Regions from separate parts of the Homo sapiens genome. Here region 1 is linked to region 2. Evidence: promoter capture Hi-C in 16 types of primary human blood cells and fetal thymus (Javierre and others, 2016). All regions are on one chromosome and are shown on one strand. Each heading gives the region's core, a stretch centred on a gene start or on the middle of the fragment in contact. The rest is flanking DNA. Distances are from core to core; before and after follow the strand shown.

Region 1 (6,237 bases), core at 850-3,349, 92 kb after region 2:
AGTCAGCTTGGCCTCTTGAGTCTTCACTTGCAGTGGCCCCTGTGCAGCCCAGGCGTCTTCATCTGATTGCGCTATCGCACCAGCCTCCTCATGGTCTCCTGGAGGGTTGAATCTAGGAATGCCCCCCTCAGCATCACTTTGGGCACCCCGAATGCATGCATGAGCAGTAGCTATGATGGCACAGGCTGCTGTCAGATCGAACCCACGCGTCCGTGTCAGGACCATGAAGAAGACATGTCACTCGGATTTGTTGCTCATGGCTGGCAGTTCACTTTCACATCTATGTAACCTTCCCTTCCCTCCCCTCCCCTCCCTTCCCCTCCCCTTCCCTTCCCTTTTTGACAGACTTTTGCTCTTTTTGCCCAGGCTGGAGTGCAATGGCACAATCTTGGCTCCCTGCAACCTCCTCCTCCTGGGTTCAAGTGATTCTCCTACCACAGCCTCCCAGGTAGCTGGGATTACAGGCATAAGCTACCATGCCTGGCTAATTTTTTGTATTTTTTTTTTGGAGACAGAGCCTCTCTCTATCCCCCAGGCTGGAGTGCAGTGACGTGATCTCAGCTCACTGCAACCTCCCTCTCCCAGGTTCAAGCGATTCTCATGCCTCAGTCTCCCCTGAGCAGCTAGGATTACAGGCACCTGCCACCACACCTGGCTAATTTTTGTATTTTTAGTAGAGACGGGGTTTCGCCGTGTTGACCAGGCTGGTCTTGAACTCCTAACCTCAGGTGATCTGCCCACCTCGGCCTCCCAGAGTACTGGGATTACAGACGTGAGCCACCACCCCTGGCCTATGTAAGCTTTCCAGGTGTGACATGAAGTTGTAGCAGGATGAGCTGCAGACAAAACTCCTCAGATACTGGATTAAAGAAGGAAGAGGTTTATTTGGCCGGGAGCCTCAGCAGACTTGCGTCTTAAGAGCCGAGCTCCCTGAAAAATAAATTCTTGGCCTTTTTTTTTTTTTTTGGAGTCTCCCTCTGTTGCCCAGGCTGGAGTGCAGTGGTGCAATCTCGGCTCACTGCAAGCTCTGCCTCCCGACTTCATGCCATTCTCCTGCCTCCGCCTCCCGAGTAGCTGGGACTACAGTCACCCACCACCACACCCGGCTAATTTTTTTGTATTTTTAGTAGAGATGGGGTTTCACTGTGTTAGCCAGGATGGTCTCGATCTCCTGACCTCGTGATCCGCCCGCCCCCCAAAGTGCTGGGATTACAGGCATGAGCCACCACGCCTGGCCAATTCTTGGCCTTTTTAAAGGCTTACAACTTCGAGGGGTCCACATGAAAGGGTCGTGATAAATCGAGCAAGCGTGGGAAACGTGACTGGGGGCTACATGCATCAGGTAACAGAACAGAAAGTTTTGCAATGCTTTTTCATATAATGTCTGGAACTTACAGATAACACAAGTAGTTTAGGTCAGGGGTTGCTGTTATTATTATTACTTTTTTTAACTCCTAGGGCTGGGTGGTGGTGCCAAGGTTGACTGGCTATTTATCTTACTTCTGTTTCTTTCCAACTTTTTGCTTTCTCTCTTTCCTCCTGTCTTGTGAACTAGGCAAGGTCGGGGGAGGAGGGCAGCAGGAGTAGTAGTGGTCTCCTTCCTTAAAGTAAGGCAACGCTTTGTATACTTTCAGAATTGGTACTGATTCTGTAAGTTATAGTATAAATGAGTATTTATTTTTAATAGAGAAAATGCCACAATAAGAAAGGGATTGGTAAAGCTTCAATCCCTTTGTTATCTTTGAACTGTTATCTTTGAATGATCACATGTCAAAGGATCCAGGAAGAATGTGTGCCAGTTTTCAGCCCCCGTCTGTCCCCCGAGGGCTCGTGCTTGGGAAAGCAGTCACCTTGTTGAGTCACTCTCCAGGTGACTTGGTCGCAGAATCCCTCCATCTCACACCTAGAAGAGACCTTGGAAGCCTAAGCACCCTCCACCTCTATTCTTCACCCCATTTCTGCTTCAACAGCTCCAGGGACCTCCTCTTGCTCCGTGACATAGTTTGGATATTTGTCCCCCGCCCAAATCTCATGTTGAAATGTAATTCCCAGTGTTGGAGATGCGACCTGGTGGAAGGTGTTTGGGTTATGGGGGCAGATCCTTCATGACTTGGTGCTGTCCTTGCAATGATGAGTGAGTCCTTGCCAGATCTGGTTGTTTAAGTGTGTGGCACCTCCCCTTCTTACTCTCTCTCGCTCCCCTTCTCTGGCCTGCATCCTTTTGCCATAAGTAAAAGCTCTCTGAGGCCTCCCCAGAAGGAGATGCTGGCACCACGCTTCCTGTACAGCTGCAGAACCTTGAGCCAATCAAACCTCTTTTCTTATAAATTACTTCTAGTCTCAGGTATTTCTTTATAGCAGTGCAAGAACACCCCAATACACAGCCCCTTGAGAAAGGTGGCTTTGCCTTTTTGGTGCAAGAGAGATTGACAGATCTTCCTTAGCCTGAGCCAATTTCTGTTCCTCTCCAAGCTTCAGTGTCCTCATCTAGAAAATGAAGAGGTTAGGCTGGGTGCAGTGGCTCAAGCCCATAATCCCAGCACTTTGGGAGGCCAAGGTGGGTGGTTCACCTGAGGTCAGGAGTTTGAGACCAGCCTGACCTTCACCAACACGGTGAAACCCTGTCTCTGCTAAAAATACAAAAATTAGCCAGGCCTGGTGGCACGCGCCTGTAATCCCAGCTACTTGGGAGGCTGAGGCAGGAGAATCACTTGAACCTGGGAGGCGGAGGTTGCAGTGAGCTGAGACTGCACCATTGCACTCCAGCCTGGGCAACAAGAGCAAAACTTGGTCTTGGTCTCAAAAAAAAAGAAAAAAAAGAAAAAAAAGAAAATGAGGAGGTTAGTCTAGAGCAATGGTTGGCAAATAGTTTATGAATCCATGGAACGTTTGTAAAAAAGAAAAAAGCTCAATGGCTAATATACAGTGAAGGCATCTTTTTATATAAGCACTTGTGACACCACCATTGGTCACTGGATTATTGCAGTACGCCCTGCCCTTGCCCATGTGGCTATTTCCCACCTGGCACCAGAGCGATCTCTTAATTGCAAGCCACACCACATTACTCCTGTTTAAAACTTTCTAATGGGCCAGGCACGGTGGCTCAGGCCTGTAATCCCAGCACTTTGGGAGGCCGAGGTGGTGGATCACCTGAGATCAGGAGTTCGAGACCAGCCTGGCCAACATGGTGAAACCCTGTCTCCACTAAAAATGAAAAAATTAGCTGGGCGTGGTGGTGCGCCCCTGTAATCCCAGCTACTCTGGATGCTGCAGCGAGAGAATCATTTGAACCTGGGAGGTGGAGGCTGCAGTGAGTCAAGATTGTGCTACTGCACTGCAGCCTGGGTGACAGAGCAAGACTCTGTTTCAAAAAAACCAAAACCTTCCAGTGGATTCTCATTTTACCTCAAGTAAGATTCTAGGCTGGGTGCCATGGCTCATGCCTGTAATCCCAACACTTTGGGAGGCTGAGGTGGGAGGATCGCTGGAGCCCAGGAGGTGGAGGTTGCAGTTGCAGTGAGCCGAGATAACGCCACTGTACTCCAGCTTTTGCTCTGGTGACAGAGCAAGACCCTGTCTCAAAAAAAAATTTTTTTTTTGTACTTTATAGTATAATTGGCTATGTGTGTTCATGTGTGACTGTGAGTGCATGCATGTTTGTGTGTGCACATGTCTGTATATATGTATGTCTGTGTGTATCTGTGTGCTGTGTGTGAATGTGTGTCTGATGTGTGTGTCTCGGTGTACATGTCAGTGTGCATGTGTGCATGGGCATGTGTGTATCTGGTTCCTTCCAGCTGTGTCTGATCCATCTCTGTGTACTCAGCATATGATTACAGTGTAGGTAAGTAAACATTTGCTGGATTAAAGAATGTCTCTTAGATCCAGAAATGAGAAACACACAACAGTGAGCCACCACATACCTCAGGCCCTCCGTATTCCATCCTCAGAATTTTTTCCATGCTTCCTGTATTCCTGGGGGAAAATTCCAACCTCCCACACTGGTCTTGGAGACCAGCCCCCATGCCTCACCCTTATCATTCCCTGTCTAATATCTATTCCCAGGACATCCCTAGTCTCTTCCAGCCTCTTTGGCTTTGCTCACACTGGTCCCTCTGCATGGGAGACCTCTCCCTAATCCGCTTCCCCCATGCATTTGTTTACCCCACAAACTCCTAATTGTCCTTCAAAGCCCATTCCTCCAATGCCCACAGCCCTCAGTGAAGCCGGCATAAGCATCGTGCAGCTCCCTTTTTGAGTGCTCCAGTTCTCCTACCAACAGGCCTATGCACACACCCAGTTCCCTCTCAAACCAACAGGCTTTTCCTTCCTACTTGTAAAGGATTGAGATCTTCTGCAAACCTTACAAAACAATGAGTTGTAAGCCTTGAGGTTAAACCACCAGTTTTACTTATTTTTTTTTTGAGACAGGATCTCTCTCAATCTTGTCCAGGCTGGAGTACAGTGGTGCAATCACAGCTCACTGCAGCCTCAAACTCCTGGGCTCAAACAATCCTCCCACTTCAGCCTCTTGGGTGGGAGTACAGGAACATGTCACCATGCCAGCTAATTATTTTACTATTAAACCCCAAGCCACAGAATGTCTTTTTGAAGACTGCTAATTACTAATCATAGAGGAAACACTCGCCTTGCTTACACTCACATTTGTTTCTCCTTTTCTTTTTTTTCCACAGAGATGGAGTCTTGCTCTGTCACCCAGAGCTGGAGTGCAATGGTGCAATCTTGGCTCACTGCAACCTTCGCCTCCCAGGTTCAAGCAATTCTCCTGCTTCAGTCTCTTTTACCTTCTGTTTTGAATTCTATTTTCTTTCTTTCTTTTTTTTTTTTTACTAGTACTTCAACTTTCTTGTGCTTACTGTTTGCATGGTATATCTTTTTCAATACTCACACTTTCAATAATGCTTTTCCCTATATGTAAAATATTTCCCTTGTAGACAGTATATATGGGTATTGCTTTTTTATGCAATTTGACCAATCTGTACCCCTTAATTGAAATGTTTGGCCTGTTAACATTGTTAGGTCTAAAGCTGCCTCCCTACTACTTTAAGTTTGGTCTAATGGTTTCTCCATACATAGTGAACTGTAACCTAACTTGATGTGTAAACAGTCTGTAACCTGCTATAGTAAAAATAGCTGAGTCTCAGCCAATCACAGGTACCCAACTAACTGTTCAAACCTGGTTCAAATAAGGCAAGCACCCAACTGTTAGCAGTCCAGCTATTTCAGTGCCTTCCTTAGTTTCTTCTACATCACTTTCTTCTGCGGTAGATGTTATCCAACCATTTATGGACGGAACACCCTGAAGTTTCTCTGAACCTACTCTGGGTCTGGGGGCTACCTGATTAATGCATCATTCATTACTCAATTAAACTGTGTTAAATTTAACGTGTCTGAAGTTTTTCCTTTAGTCAGCCAATTAATCTAATTATTGATTTGACTGCATGTAAATCTACGCTTCAACTTGTGAGTTGGAAGTAGAATGAGGTCACAGTTTCAGGTAGCACCAGGCCTCCACGGGTTCATGAGAATTTCCAGGTGTCCAGGGGTGGGATCAGGCCACAGTATCAGATGGCAGCATCGGTGCTTGAGAAGTTTCCCATGTGACCTTAGGGATCCCAGGATGATGCCCCATAGTCCAGGGATCTTGGGGATGGGAAGAGTCTGGTCTGACTCACTGTGAGGCCTCGCTGAAGCTGTCTTTCTCTGATAGTGCAGCCCTCCCTGAATCCAGGGCTGGAGTGACCTCGATCTGCACAGATCTCTCCAAAAAGAACAAAGACCAAGGTCTCTGGTGCAGGCCCTTCTGGGAGAGGGCACTTCTCACGGTGGGCGTCACGGGTGGTTGTGGCCCTGGTTCTAGAGGGTGGTGTGGCTCCAGAACGCACGCACAGCACTAAAACATCCCTGTCCACCCCCAACTCGCCATTTATTTATTTATTTATTTTTAAGAGGAGGAGGCGTGCAAGGGCGGTGACCGGCCGGACCCTCTTCTCCTCCCCGCCTACCGGCCCACGGCTCAGATGGCCACAGGCGAGGCCGCCGCCACCGCTACCTCCTGGCCCACAGCCACCCCTCGAATAGGGGCCACCGGGCCACCCTCCGACGTGCCTTGTTCGCTCCCCGAACCCCGATCTAGCCCCTGGTCGAGCCCGGGCAGAACGAGGAGAAGACCTGGCTCCCAAACAGGACGCTGCGGGGGCGGCCCTCACCGCCTCT
Region 2 (7,016 bases), core at 275-2,774:
AAACACAGCTATCTGGGGCAGGTCTTCTCATCACCTTGGATTAGAACACCGGCTTGCTTTTGAGCCACTTCCCACTTAGCCCTGGGGTAAGTTACTTCACTTCTCTAGGCCTCAGTTTTCTTATCTCTAAAATGGAAGGAATAATAATGGGGTGTTGTGATGCTCTGATGAGTCAATGTGTGTGAGTGCCTGGCACATGGCCTATCAGTGTTCACCATTAAAGTTACTATCATTTAGAATGATCTTTTGGGTACTTCCTGGCTTGTAGTGACAGTATACGCAATGGTTAAGAACATGGACTTTTGAGAGAATGAAGCCTGCATTTTACCACTTACAACATGTGTAGATGTTGGCTACATTTTTTTTTTTTTTTCTGAGATGGGGTCTTACTCTGTCGCCCAGGCTGGAGTGCAGTGGCACATTCAAGACTCACTGCAGCCTCGACCTCCTGGGCTCGAGATATCCTCCTGCCTCAGCCTCTGGAGTAGCTGAGATGACAGGTGTGTGCCACCACGCCTGGCATAATTTTTGTATTTTTAGTAGAGATGGGGTTTCTCCATGTTGCCCAGGCTGGCCTTGAACTCCTGATCTCAAGCAATCCACCTGCCTCGGCTTCCCAAAGTGCTGGGATTACAGGCCTGAGCCTCTGTGCCCAGCCAACCTTGGGTGCATTTGTCCTCCTCAGCTTGTATCCCCAAGTGTAAAATGGAGATAGTAGGCCAGGAGCGGTGGCTCACGCCTGTAATCTCAACACTTTGGGAGGCTGAGGCAGGCAGGTTGTTTGAGCCCAGGAGTTCAAGATCAGCCTGGGCAACCTGGAGAAACCCAGTCTCTACTAAAAAAAAAGAAATGGAGGTAGTAATCACTTTCTCGCTGGACAGCTTTGAGGGTGAAATTAAATGACTGGGTATAAAGTGTTTCACACAGCTCTTGACTTCTAATCATCCCTTTTCATATACCAGTTATTTTCCTGTTTTCATTTTCCTGTTTTCGCCCAGAGAGGAAAGGGTCTGGCTGAGACCTTTAACCTCTGCCCTCCACCCCATAGCAAAGTTGTGGGGGGGTGGCGGTACACTTCCCTCAGTCTCTGGGCAGGTGTCTGACTCAGTTCAGGGCACCCCTTCCCCTTGTCCAGCTCCCCAAACCGGTCAGGGCCCTTCTGAAGGGCTCATTAGAGGGGAGACGTCCCCATCTCCATTCCTGCCTTCCTTTCTGAACTCCCAAGGTCTGGACATTAGAGAGGCTCCCATACAGAGGTGGCCAAGACTCCTCCAGGGGGGCAGGAATGAGGGGCTCGAGGGAGACTGGGAGGTCGCGATGCTGAGTTCCACGAGGGTGGGGCCGGGCCGGGGCCGGTGGGGCCGGGATGGCCGGATGCCGAGGCCACGGGTGGGGCAAGCCCGTGGCTCCCTCCTCCCTCGGGAGCTGTTGGACCTGTTGTCCCCCCTCCACTTCCGGGCTGCTGGGGAGGGGGACCGGGCGGCCTCTCTCCTCCCTCTTCCCCTGCCACCTGTCTCATAGGCAGAAGCGGCCGTGCCCAGCGCGCAGAGCGGAGCGCGCCGAAGCCTGAGCTCGTGAGGGGGCCGAGGCTGTGGGGAGGTGGCAGTTGGACTTCGGAATCTCAAGGACTCCGACTCCTGGCTTGTTCAGAGAAGGAGAGCCCCGACTCCTGGATCCCTGGGTGAGGCGGCGTGGGCACGGTTGCCCTGCACAGTGGGGTCGGGACTAAGACTACGGGGCTCCGGGAAGGATGGGGCGGGAGCCGAACTGCTGAGTCTCGGAGGGAGAAGATGGGTCGCTCTAAGCGAATCCAAGAGATTGTAGGGGGCTGCTGGGAGGGTACAAGGCCTGACACCTAGAGATGAGGGAGGGGAGGCGGGGTCGAAGAGGTCAGTAGGGGGCGTGCTACGACCCGGACTCAAATTCCGGTCCCGTCTCCGGTGGCGTGTCGCCTTGGAGCCATCAAGCCCCGCCTCTGGAAACTTCAGGACACGCCTCCGTAACGCTCAGTTCCATCCTTTGAACTCTTAGGCCCCGCCTCCTTGGGGGGGGGTCTCCGCGCCCCGGAGCAGACGCGAGCGGCGCTCAGCCGTCCTAGGCCCCGCCCCCGGAGCTTCTGGTCCCGCCCACCCCGCAGGAGTCCCAGCGGCCATGGGGACGCGAAGCAGCCCCGAGGAGGGGACCCCGCCGCCGCTGGTCCCGGAATGCGACGTGGAGGTCCAGCCCCAGGGCCATCCCGAGGAGTCCCGGGAACAGGAGGCATCCGAAGTCCTGGCGGAACCTTCGAGCCGCGGGGGAGCTGAGCAGCAGGCAGAGGAAGAAGAAGTGGGAGAAGGCAGCAGCACTGAGAGCAGCCGCGACGCGGTGAGGGGCCCGAGGGCGACAGCGCGGGGGGCTTGGACCGACGGGGACCCAAACAGGTGGCCAGACAGGTAGACAGGTAGAGGGAAACCAGAAAGACAGAGACCCGGAGACAGGGAGAGAGACCGAGTGATAGCAGAGACTACTGAGAGAGAGATACACCAGGACACGGAGCCAGAGAGGCAGAGGCACAGACAGACAGAAACCAGATACAGAGACAGAAACCAGATAGAGCCACGGGGAGGCCCCAAGAACGGAGATAGACCCAAACGGGCGACAGAGACAGAGAGACTAGTATAGAGGAACCAGATAGGTGGCTCACGCCTGTAATCCCAGCACTTGGGGAGGCCGAGGGGAGGATTGCTTAAGCCCAGGAGTTCGAGACAAGTCTGGGCAACATAGCAAATCCCTGTCTCTAGAGAAAAAAAAAATACAAAAATTGTCCAAGCGCAGTGCCGCGTGCCTGTAATCCCAGCTACTCGGGAGGCTGAGGCAGGAGGATCGCTTGAGCCCAGGAGTTGTAGGCTGCGGTGAACTATGACTGCGCCACTGCACCCCAGCCTGGGACAAAGCAGAACCTATCTCTAAAAATGAGAGAGAGAGAGAGAGAGAGAGAGAGAGAGAGAGACCAGATAGACAGACAGGAGAGACTACAGAACAGAGAGAACCAAACGAGTAAGAGATGCAGAGAGATCAAGAAGCCAGACAGAGACCCAGAGACATGGAGACTGAGAGACAAAGACCCCAAAAAGACAGAGACACAGTGAGACTAGAGTCAGAGAGAGGGGAATCGAGACAGAGGGAAACCCAGAAATAAATGGCAGAGATGCTCAGAGAAACAAATAGACAAAAACCTCGAGAGAGGGACATACTCCGAGGAAGAAAGATCTAGTGATTCTAGTGGACAGATCTAGTGGACAGATACCGAATCTGAGAGACTGGGGTCAGGTGGAGAGACAGAGACAGATCCAGGCACTACAAGAAAGTGACGCCAAGAGAATAGGACCTGATAGAGAAAAAGAAACACCTTTCATAAGTCGGCTTTACACCTGCTCACCCTCCATACGGTACTGCAAGCCTCTGTGGTCCGTGTGGTTGGGTGGTCACGGGACTTGCACCCTCCCCCACTCCGACCTTAAATACAGGGGTCTGAGGCCGGGCGCGGTGGCTTATGCCTGTAATCGTAGCACTTTGGGAGGCCGAGGTGGGAGAATCCCTTGAGCCTAGGAGTTTGAGACCAGCCTGGGCAACATAGCATCGCCCCCTCTCTGCCAAAAAAAAAAAAAAAAAAAAAGAGCTTGGCGTGGCGGTGCGCGCCTGTAGTCACAGCTACCTAGGAGGATGAGGCAGAAGAATCGCTTGAGCGAGGGAGGTCGATGCTGCAGTGAGCCGTAATCGCGCCACTGCACTCCAGCCAGTGAGACCCTATCTCAGGACAAAAAAAAAAAAAAGATAAGAAAGAAAAAGAAAAGAGCCTGCGACAGATTATGGGAGTGGTGGTTGTGTTAGGTAAGTGGACTGATGGACTGAGACCCGCAGAGGGTGATGTTGGGTGGGGACCAGACCTACTTAGTGATTGCAGGGGGCGAGGCATCTCCACTTAACCACGCCCCCCTCAACTTCAGCCCGAGGCTACGCCTCCGATAGCTATGGCGGCCACACCTCCCGCATCCACCTCTTCGCGGGAAGGGGTGCGAGGGGCGGCGCGGCGCCTGCAAGGACAGCAGCTGGAGGCATTGACTCGTGTGGCCCTGATGGAGCAGCGAGTGAAGGAGCTACAGCGCCAGAGGAAGGAGCTGAGGATCGAGGTGAGGCTGCGGACCCCTTGGGAAGCCTGGCCCCAACTCAAGCGGAACCCGCAAAGCCGGACTCCCAGCTTTTTCCTCGGGTGGGATCAGATTTTAGGCCCTCCGCTCTTCCTCCCTCCAAATTCAGGTCCCTGGAGTCCATCCTCCCTTCGAATCCGGTAGTTCAGGCCCTGGGCCTCTTCCTTGGACCTAGGCGTCCGAGCCCCCAGCCCTGGCATTCTCTCCGCAGATGGAGGTGGAGGTGGCCTTGCTGCGGGGTGAGCTGGCTGGGGAGCGAGTGGCCGCTCGCCGGGAGGAGGAGCAGCTGCGGGAGCTGCTGGAGCAGCAGGCGGCCTCGGAGCAGCGCGGCCGCCAGCAGCGGGAACAGGTCTGTTTGGCTCACCGGGTCTTCATCAGCAGTGTCCTTCCTGGTCCATGGATGTTGGTGTGCTCCTAGCCACCTGCGCCCCGGGGTTGTCCCCATTCCCCAAAGGAAGACATTTGGGCTCCTGAGAGAGTGAGGGGCAGATGCCCCTCCTGGTTTTCCTTCTCCCTCCCTGGGCGAGATTTTTGGGGCTCTTCCTTTGTCCCCTGTCCGTTTGCTATTTAAATGTGGGTGTGTAAAAACTTCCAAACTGGCCGGAAGCAGTGGCTCACGCCTGTAATCATAGCACTTTGGGAGGCCGAGGCGGGCGGATTGCCTGAGCTCAGGAGTTTGAGACCAGCCTGGGCAACATGGCGAAACCCCGTCTCTGCTTAAAAATACAAAAATTAGCAGGGCGTGGTGGCGGGCGCCTGTAGTCCCAGCTACTTGGGAGGCTGAGGCAGGAGAATCGCTTGAATCCGGGAGATGGAGGTTGCAGTGAGCCAAGATCGCACCATTGCACTCCAGCAGCCTGCGTGACAAGAAGGAGACTCCGTCTCAAAAAAAAAAAAAAAAAAAAAAGAGAAAAAGAAAACTTCCAAACCCACCCCACAATAGTCAGGCAGCTCCCATGTCCTGTGCCCACCAGCTTCATCAATGATTAATATTCTTACATTCTTGTTTCATTATCTCCAATTTGTTCTCGTCCCCAGTTTTAAAAGCCAATCCCAGACATCATATGGTCTGTACATATGTTTAGAGTGTATCATTGACAGATAAGAAATCCTTTTAGGCTGGGCCAAGTGGCTCACACCTGTAATCCCAGTACTTGCGGGGTGGGGGGGGGGTACGGGGGGCGGGGCAAAGTGGGAGGATCGCTTGAGGCCAAGACTATGAGACCAGCCTGGCAATATTATAATAAGACACCGTTTCTGTGAAAAATAAAAATACAAAAATTAACCAGGCATGGTGGCATGTGCCTGTGGCCTCAGACTCAGAAGAGTGAGGTGGGAGGATCAATTGAGCCCAGAAGGTAGAGGCTGCAGTGAGCTGTGATTATAACATTGCACTCCAACCTGGGCGATAGAGCAAGACCCTGTCTCAAAAATAAAAAATTAATAAGTTCTTAGTATTGTCTTATTTCTGGTTAGTTTTTGTGTTTCCCAGACAGTCTCAAAATGCCAGTTAACAGGTGGCTTGTTTGAATGAAGTCCCCAAAGTTCAGTGTGATTGGCTGATACGTCTTGCCCATTGTTTTATCTCTGGTGGTTCCTACCCGCTGTGTCTTCCCCATACTGTTTATTGGAAAAATCCAGTCTTCTGTCCTATAGGCAGAGCATGGCTGATCGCATGCCTGTGGTGCCCTTGAACATGCCTCTGTTTCTGCAAGTGGGTGTTGGTTAGAGGGAGAGGTTTGATCGTATTCAGAAGTGCTTTAGTGCTTCCTGAGCCAGTGTTGGGAACCTCATCTCTGGTTGTCCCGACCTAATAAGATCACCCTAGTCTCTTTTTTTTTGCGAGACACAGTTTCGCTCTTGTTGCCCAGGCTGGAGTGCAATGGCGTGATCTTGGCTCACCGTAACCTCTGCCTCCCAGGTTCAAGCGATTCTCCTGTCTTAGCCTCCCCAGTAGCTGGGATTACAGGCATGCACCACCATGCCCGGGTAATTTTGTATTTTCAGTAGAGATGGGGTTTCTCCATGCTGGTCAGGCTGGTCTCGAACTCCTGACCTCAGGTGATCTGCCCGCCTTGGCCTCCCAAAGTGCTGGGATTACAGGTATGAGCCACCGCAGTTCGAGGCCAGCCTGGCCAACATGATGAAACCCCATCTCTACTAAAAATACAAAAAATTAGCTGGGCGTGGTGGCAGGCACCAGTAATCCCAGCTATTCGGGAGGCTGAGGCAGGAGAATTGCTTGAATCCGGGAGGTGGAGGTTGCAGCTCCCAGGAGCCAAGATCACACCACTGCACTCCAGCCTGGGCAACGGGAGCAGAACTCCATCTCAAAAAAAAGAATCTTTTATCTGAAGATTGTAACATCCATCAGTGGTCATTGCTTGGGTCAGTTACCATTATAGGTTGGAAAATGGTGACTTGTGATTTTGTCAGTTTTTTTCTTTGCAAGTGTCGTGTATGTTGGAATTTTATGAGGCTGGGTCCTAGGCCCTCATTTATCCTCAAAGATCACATATTTCTCCCAGGCCCTCTCTCCTGAGACAGAAATGTGCTCTTCTTCCTAGGGTACTGGCTACTTCATACTCCCTTCTCACCCAGATCCAGAAATCTCGGTCGCAGCCCCTTCTCCCTCTGTCCCAGGAGTCCAGACCCCCAGCTCCTCCTCCCTCAAACCCAGAAGTCCAGACCCCCAGATCCTCCTTCCTTAGATCCAGGAATCCAGGCCCCAGCCCCTCCTCCCTCTGACCCAGGAGTCTGGCTGACCTCAGCAACTCCCTTCTCCACACTGTTTGTCTTGCTGTCCCTTTGGTCACCAGGCCAGAGTCC

Evidence for each region. The method cuts DNA at HindIII sites, captures the fragments that hold promoters and counts their contacts. A CHiCAGO score of 5 or more calls a contact.
Region 1: a contact is called between a fragment that was not itself captured here and the fragment with the promoter of PHLDB3 in region 2, in 2 of 17 cell types (non-activated CD4 T cells and total CD4 T cells). The highest score is 5.6, in non-activated CD4 T cells.

Annotation. Positions count from the first base shown.
Region 1 is chr19:43,408,226-43,414,462 of GRCh38, reverse strand. It overlaps a transcript of TEX101 not described here. Among named protein-coding and RNA genes, the nearest start is that of TEX101, 3.5 kb to the left of the region's middle. RefSeq lists a silencer at 1,186-1,372. The HindIII fragment of the contact is 751 bases long and covers 1,724-2,474 here.
Region 2 is chr19:43,499,254-43,506,269 of GRCh38, reverse strand. PHLDB3 (pleckstrin homology like domain family B member 3) reads left to right here and starts at 1,524. Exons shown (of 16, transcript NM_198850.4): 1 at 1,524-1,681; 2 at 2,138-2,364; 3 at 3,987-4,169; 4 at 4,399-4,536. The coding sequence starts at 2,152. RefSeq lists silencers at 1,328-1,387, 1,988-2,237 and enhancers at 1,866-2,388, 6,879-7,016. The HindIII fragment of the contact is 22,316 bases long and covers 1-7,016 here.